2 separate regions of the Homo sapiens genome follow, and region 2 is linked to region 1. Evidence: promoter capture Hi-C in human tissues and cell types (Jung and others, 2019). All regions are on one chromosome and are shown on one strand. The core of a region is centred on a gene start or on the middle of the fragment in contact, and the rest is flanking DNA. Distances in the headings are between cores, read along the strand shown. Region 1 holds the start of TMIGD1 (transmembrane and immunoglobulin domain containing 1). Region 2 has its middle 72 kb from the start of GOSR1.

Region 1 (4,353 bases), core at 1,392-3,891:
CAAAAGCGCAGAGCTTGTTTTATTCATCTATGTATCACCACTTAATGTTATGGAAGCATTAAGTGGTGGAAGCATTAAGCTGGAAGCATCATTCATCTTATAGACATCATAGCTTTGTAGAGTTATTATAACAATTTTCCACAGATGGCAGTAGAGTGACTAGAGAAGCCATATTTTCCCTAATTCATGACAAAGCCACCATATTGGCTTGGCTGCAACTGGCATCCTCAATACTTAGAATACTTAGCACATGGTAGATACTCAATAAATATCTGCTGAATACATTTCCCCAACATTCTGATGACAAAAATGTCATACAGAAAAGTTGAAACAATAGTACAATGAAGATCTATAGACCCCTATTTAGTTGAATAAATGTTAACATTTGCTATATTTGCTGTGTGTTTATGTGTTTACTTTTCTTGCTGAATCATTTGAAAGGTAGTTGCAATTATCATGACACTTGACCCATAAATATTTCAGCAGGCATCCCTTGAGAATTAGAACATTCTCTACATAACTGCAATACCATGATCACAACTAATAATAATTAATCATTATTTCCTAATATCACCTAATATCCAATTGTAGAAGTTGCTGGTGGTGCTCTACTCACACATCCTTGGCCTACCCAGAAGTTACCTGCAAAGAGTTCCCATATAGCCAGTGACTTCCTGAGCATCTTTTCCTGGACATGTTGGCCAGCTTGAGAGAGTACACTTTGCCCTCACAGGGCAGGCTGAAAGTGCCAGAGAGTCAACACCTTGAGAGTGTCCCTCAGCCGGAGATGGAGAGAAGTTGCTTCCTTCCCTATCAGTAGTTGATTCTGAGGTATGCTGCACAGAATACAACTTGTCCAAAGCTCCAGGGATATAGTTGCTCACGGTAGTAATCTTTAACACATTCTTTACTAGTTTCCTCCCTTCCCTATCTTACTTCCTTACTATGCTTCCTGAGATCACTTTTTTTTTTTTTTTTTTTTGAGGAAGGGTCTCACTCTCTCGCCCAGATTGGAATGCAGTGGTCCAATCTTGGCTCAACACAACCTCCACCTCCCAGCCTCAAGGGATTCTTCCACCTCAGCCTCCCAAGTAGCTGGGATTACAGGCGCCCGCCACCATGCCTGGCTAATTTTTCTATTTTTAGTAGAGACGGGGTTTCATCACATTGGCCAGGCTGGTCTCGAACTCCTGACCTCAAATGATCCACCCTCCTCGGCCTCCCAAAGTGCTGGGATTAAGGGAGTGAGCCACTCACCGTGCCCGGCCGAGATCACCTTTAAATAAACTATTGGCACTCAAAGCTCTGTCTCAGGGTCTATTTTGGAGGCACCAAGAACCAAAACATCACTCCATTGCTAAATTCATTTTAAAATGACAATCTTGGATCCCTGGAGAGGCAAACTCAAAACCTGTTTGGGTGGTGCTTGCAACCCAGCCAACAGGAGCTGCTCTTAGCTCTGATTTTTGCTTGAACAATGCTATAGTGAGGTTGTGTTGATTTAGGATGCCCTGCTCAGCCTATATTAATAATAATAGTAATAAGAGCTACTGTTTACCAAGAGCTTACTGTGCGGCAGATTCACATGCTTCATTTCATTTAATCCTCACAGTGACTCCGTAGGGAGGGTACTATTACTATTTCCATTGTATTGATGAAGATCCTGAGGCTCATGGAGGTTAAATAACTTTTCAAAGTTACATAGCTAGTAAGAGGCAGATTGCTGGTGTGCTTCAGCAGTGTGTTAAAATGTGTAGATAACTATAAATATTCTTCTGTTATATTTTTGTGTAAATGGGAACAATAGTACTTGGCAGATAAAATTTGCATCGTTAACAATACCATAAACATAGTGTAATGCAAGGATCTCCCAATCAGGTGAGAGCCTCAAGAGGATAAAACTGTTCCCTAGGCCAAGGTGGGCAGATTGCTTAAGGCCGGGAGTTAGAGACCAGCCTAGGAAACATGGCGAAATTTCATCTCTACCAAAAATATATATATTAACAAAGTTTAGCTGGGCATGGTGACTCACGCCAGTAGTCCTAGCTCCTTGGGAGGCTGGGAGCAGAGGTTCAGTCAGCCACAATTGTGCCATTGCATTCCAATCTGGGTGACAGAGTGAAACCCTGCCTCAAAAAACAAAACAAACAACAACAACAAAAAAACGGCTCCCTGCCATGCCTGGCTTGGTACAGCTTATGCACTGGGCTTGGGTTACTAGTGGTAACTAAGACTTTTCCAGCATTATTTAAGTTGTGTAGAATCTTCCAATGTTTTGACCTCTGTTAAAGTCAAACTTCTCTTTGGACTCGTCCCTTCACAATCCCCAGGCTAGATGATCAAAACGCAGCCATCTTACTTAAATATGACAATATTCAGTGAGATGCGCTACAGATTTTTGCACAAGTTCAAGCTTTCTTGGAACAACACATCCCTGTTAGTAATATCCGGCCCCACCTAGTAACCGAGGTAGACATAGAAACTTAGATCTTAAGAAGATGTCTTTCCCAATTACTATCTTCTCTAAGACTCCATAAAGAAAAACAGACTTTGAACCCAAGTTATCTTATTTATTTGACCCTGCTGTCATAAAGCGTTCAAATTCAAGTATTATAAAGGATTGTAACAGGGAAAGCATTTAGGGTTTTCAGGCAGAGGAACAGTTGGCCAAGGAAGTCAGCTTCTCAGAGCTCAAGAGGTAAGTGGTAAGACTGTCTTATATAGAAAGTAGAGAGTCATACAGATTAAAAACAAGCCAAGTGAGGGGAATACATTTTGAAAAGTTGCTGTCTCGGTGGAGTGGAGGGAAAGAGAAGACATAGATTTGTCCCCTTAATAGGGCTGGGTGAGGTCTGGCAAGAAGCCTGCACTCTCAGTTTTTATTGAGTACTTGTAGTGCAGAGCGCTTGAGAAAACTCTACTATTGACCACATTCTGCAGTAATCACTGTTACAACACTGTGATAGAAATCTTTTTGGCAAATATTTAAAATTACAAAAGAATCAATATTAGTAGTAATTGCATCTTACGAAAAGATTGATGCAGGCTTGTCTGCCAGAAAGGGTGAGCCTGGCATGAATGAAACTTACTCCTGTCAGGGCACGCCTGGGACAGGGGAGGAGTAGAGTAGGTATAGGTATATTTCAGCTCTTGTAAATTAATACTGGTGTTAAGGGGAGAGAACTCCCAGTGGCCAGGGACTGGAAAAGATTAACAGCAGCTTTTTTTTATTTTTTTATTTTTTATTTTTATTTTTTGAGACCGAGCCTCACTCTGTCGCCCAGGCTGGAGTGCAGTGGCATAATCTTGGCTCACTGCAACCTCCACCTCCCAGGTTCAAGCAATTCTCCTGCCTCAGCCTCCCGAGTAGCTGGGATTACAGGCGCTCGCCACCATGCCTGGCTAATTTTTTTTTTTTTTTTTTGCATTTTTAGTAGAGATGGGGTTTCACTATGTTGGTCAGGCTAGTCTCAAACTCCTGACCTCAGGTAATCCACCTGCCTCAGCTCCTAAAGTGCTGGGATTACAGGCATGAGCCACTGCACCCAGCCTAACAGCAGCTTCTTAAAGGAAAAGAATATTAATCTAGGCAGTAGATTGGGTAGTAGGGTGGTTGAGAGTAGGGTGGTTAAGAGCATGGTCTTGGGAGTCTGGGTTCAAATCCCGACCTTGACATTTACTGTCTGTGGGATCTCAGGCAAATTACATAGTCTCTTTAAATCTATAGAAACGACCTCAGGAGGGTTGTTAGGAGGCTTAATTGTGACTGAAATGATGTATGTAAAGTGTTTAGCACAGTCCCTGTTGCGCAGAAAGTTTTCCGTATGTGGTTCGCTATATTTATAGTAGTACTCTTGAAAGGAAGTAATGAATATATGTTTTTTTCCCAGATGGAAATGGAGAATATCTTAGGGAGAGGGAGAGTTGAAGCAAAAGCAAGAAGGGAGAAAGGACACCTTTATTATTTATTATTTTTAGTCCATTGGGTCAAGGGGAAGAGAGAGAGAGAATAGTGGGAGAAAGACAAGATTAACATGGTTTAAACTAGAGGCCATGTTTCAATTGAGGCTTTTCTACGTACACACCATTTGAATCTATGGGATTTGGAGTAGTCTCAAAAACTCTCTATTATCAGAGAACATCTTTACAAAAATGACCCAAGAAAAACTTTCAGAACAAGAATTACTTTGTTCAGTAGGGACTGTCTGAGAATGAGACAAGTTTCATTCTGCTAAAATGAAATTCTATCAGTTTCTCTAGGGAAGACTGGTTTCATCTTCCCCAGGGCACCCTGACGCTGCTCTATCTGTCATAGCCTATTTCCTGTGGTTTTATGTTGCTTTTAAAAAAAAT
Region 2 (3,775 bases), core at 686-3,185, 220 kb before region 1:
TGCCCTTCTTACTGCTTGGGTGACAAGCCTGGGGTCATCCCTAGGCCGCGTCACTGCCCCTGCTTCTAAATGGAGAGCATTTTGCCAAACCTTCCTGGGAGAGGCTGGGGGCTCATCCCTGTTGTCTGTTCCATCTTGGTAAAGCCAGGTTAAGACATCTGGGTAAGCAGACAGTAGAGTGGCACCCAGGAAGGGTGGGTGGAGGGCGCTGGCATTTAGGCTTGCCTGGACCATGGTGGGAGGGGGAAGGTTACCAGGAAGCAGTGCTGTCAGGGCTAAAGTCAGGAGGAGGTGGTTATGCTGGTGAGGCAGGGGTGTGGCTGGCTTGCGGTGGGGCATAAATGAGAGCCAAGGTTTGTCAGCATGCAGAAGAGGCAGCTGACTCATCCCTAGGGGCTGCGGAGGAGGTCGGGTCACTCTTGATCCCAGTTCCCAGTGAAAACTGGAGGTTGCCATCACCTAACCACACATGCAATAAAGTCTTCTGCCTGCTGCTTACAGCCCCCGAGAACCTTCTCCGAGAGAATAAAACCTTTGACTGCTGCTCTTCCTGAGTGGATTTTGTTTGTGTCTTCTGATGAACTGTGATGTCCCGTCTATCATTTTCCCAGGCTCAAGGATCCACCAAAAGTTGACGCCTCTTTTGGGGAGGCTCTGCAGTGCCTTCTTCTCACCAGGCTCCCCGGGAAGCTTGTGAACTTGGCTTGCACCCTAAGCAGCCAGGTACACGCAGGGGCTCTGCTTCTTGCTTTCACTAAGAGAGAGAGCCAAGAAAGAGACTGAAGCATGGTCTGCAGAGAAGACACTGGTGCAAACGCCAGGAGAACGAGGGGCCTGAGTCATCTTCATTCCCCTTAAAAACACGCATTCCCTCCCAGGCCACCTTAGGGCATGAAGCACAGTGAGAGTGTGTGTGTGTGTGTGAGTGTGTGTGTGTGCAGGTATATGCACGTGTATTTATGTGCATGTGTGCGTGTGTGTGCGTTCATGTGCATGCACGTATGCATGTGTACATGTCTGCTTGCATGTGTGCATGCGTGTGTGGTGCAGGGATATGAGGTGGACAGGATGTCGGAGGGCAGCTCCAGCTCCAAGCTGCACGTTTCTCTGTTAGAATGGTTTAGATTCCCTGGACCACAGCAAGAGAGTGTTTTCACGTGCATCCATTTTTCTTAGCATTGAAACCCATATTTTTAGCAGCATGTAAACCTTAATTTGCTTAACTATTCTTAGAAGCATTTATACCGGTGGTCCCCAACCTTTTTGGTCCCAGAGACCAGTTTCATGGAAGACTTTTCCACGGACCCGGGAGAAGGGGAAAGGATGATGCGGAGATGATTCAAGCCCATTACATTTATTGTGCACTTTATTTCTATTATTATTTCACTGTAATATATAATGAAATAATTATACCATTCACCATAATGTAGAATAAGTAGGAACACTGAGCTTGTTTTCCTGCAACTAGATGGTCCCATCTGGGGGTGATGGGAGACAGTGACAGATCATCAGGCATTAGATTTCATAAGGAGCACACAACCTAGATCCCTGGCATGCGCAGTTCACAGTAGGGTTCATGCTCCTATGAGAATCTAATGGCACCACTCATCTGACAGGAGACACAGCTCATGTGGTAATGCAAGGGATGGGGAGCGGCTGTTTCTACAGATGAAGCTTTGCTCACTGGCTGGCTGCTCACCTCCTGCTGTGCAGCCTGGTTCCAAACAGGAGGGAACCCGTGATTTATCCAGTAAGATAAATCCATTATGTAAGTTGACATTATTCACTCTGCACCACCCAAAATTATCTTGCATACCTACACACACCCAAGGGTCCGACAGCACACTTTGGGAGCTGTAGACAGTAAGCCTGGAGGTCCATTGCGAATTCCATCTCTTCACCCTGTAGGCTAATAGGCTATGTTAGTTTCCTAGGGCTGTTTTACAGTACCACAGACTGGGCACCTTCAACAACAGAATCTTACTGTCTCACAGTACTGGAGGCCATGAGTCCAAGATCAAAGTGTCAGCAGGGTGGGTTTCTTCTGAGGCTGTGCAGGAAGGTTCTGTTCCAGGCCTGTCTCCTGGCATGTCGGTGGCTCCCAGTCTCTAAAAAACAAACAAAAAAAAAAGAATATGGAAAGGAAAGGTCATTCTGATGAAGTCTCAGATGGAAATCAAGAAGAGGTAAATGGAAACTGGAGGAAAGGTGAGTGACGCTTGCCATAAAGTGGCAAAGCACTAGTGTTTGGTGGAAGGCAGAACTTGTGAGTGATGTAACTGAAATTTGGCAGAAGAAATATCTCAGCAAAGTATTGAAGGAGCGGCTTGATTGTCTTGAACGTTTATAGGAAAATGAAAGAAAAAGAGGAATGATTTAGAGACAGAACTTATAATCAAAAGGGAAGCAGAACTTAAAGATTTGGGAAACTTTTAGCCTTCTCAGCCTGCCCGTTTTGAACAGATAAGAAAGTGTGTTTGGGAGCGAACACGAGGGTGTGGGTCAGGAGGCCTGCGTGGATCAGGGCTGTGCTCCTCACCAGGACAATGGAAGAGCGACCCTGAAGGCATTGTGTGGATCACTCAGGCCGCACTCTCGTCACAGGCCCATGGTGCCAGGGCACTGACGGCAGTACGGTTTCCAAGAAAGGCCCTGGGGCGCCCTGAGGACCCCTGAGGACCTTGGGGCTTGCTGCCCAGCACTCCCTGAAGTCGCTGGTTCCCACACTGTGCTGTGGTGCTCCTTGGCTGCTCCAAGTGTTGCTCAATGGGCCCTGGTGGAGTGGGGGACATGCTATCACCCCTCCAGAGGACACAGGCAGAAAACTCTTTGGAGCATCCACGTGGTGCTCATTCTGCAGGTGTGCAGAGTGCAATAGCTGTGGGATATGGCTGCCTCCACCTGCATTTCAAAGTATGTCCCAGACAGCCTTGGGGTCAGGCAGAAAACTGCCACAGGGGCAGGGACACCACAGAACGTTCCCACTAGGGCAATGCCCAGCAGAGCCGTGGGGAAGAGGCTATCCCCAAGATTCCAGGATGGTAGAGCCAGCAGTGTGCAAGTCCACCCTGGGAGAGCCTCAGGCATCAAACTCCAACATGTGAGAGCTGCTGCCTGGGCTGCACCCAGCAAAGCCATGGGGGAAGAGCCACCTGAAGCCCTGGGCCGCCCAACCACATCCTAGTATATCTGGAACATGGGCCATGGAGTCAAAGAAGGTTCTCAAGTTTTAAGATTTAATGTTCTTTTCCCGGTTGGGTTTTGGACTCACTTGGGGCAACAACAACAACCAAAAACACCAAGCTGAAAGCAAAAAACACAAAATAAACACCTTAACCCTATCCCTCCATTTAATGTAATTCAGGACTCTAACCAAGAAGAATTTCTCAATTTCTCAGCAAAGCTACAGGGCTAATATTCAAACCCGCCTATAAGCAATGCTATTTCTTTTCCTTAGGTAATTATTTTCCCAGAACTCTATAAAACAACTAAAATATTTTTGACCAGAAATTAAACATATAAAAAAGACCATCTAGGCCTTTGCAGCATGCACCTCCAAACTCTTCCAGCCTCTACTCATTATCCACTTGCACATTTTTGCGTATTTTTTAGAGCAGCATTCCACTTCCTGGTATCAAAAATCAATACGAGTTTGCTAGGGCTACGGTAAGAATATACCACAGATGGAGGTCTTAAATAACAGAAATATTGTTTCTCACAGTTCGGGGTCCCAGAAGTCCAAGACTAAGGTATCAGCAGAATCGGTTTCTTCTAA

The links. The method cuts DNA at HindIII sites, captures the fragments that hold promoters and counts their contacts. A contact is called where the count stands out against the background at its distance.
Region 2: a contact is called between a fragment that was not itself captured here and the fragment with the promoter of TMIGD1 in region 1, in 1 of the 25 tissues and cell types used here (adrenal gland).

The regions. Positions count from the first base shown.
Region 1 is chr17:30,332,345-30,336,697 of GRCh38, reverse strand. It overlaps TMIGD1 (transmembrane and immunoglobulin domain containing 1), which reads left to right and starts at 2,641. Exons shown (of 7, transcript NM_206832.3): 1 at 2,641-2,698. The HindIII fragment of the contact is 9,023 bases long and covers 1-4,353 here.
Region 2 is chr17:30,547,264-30,551,038 of GRCh38, reverse strand. No RefSeq gene overlaps it. Among named protein-coding and RNA genes, the nearest start is that of GOSR1, 72 kb to the right of the region's middle. RefSeq lists an enhancer at 1-21. The HindIII fragment of the contact is 6,952 bases long and covers 1-3,775 here.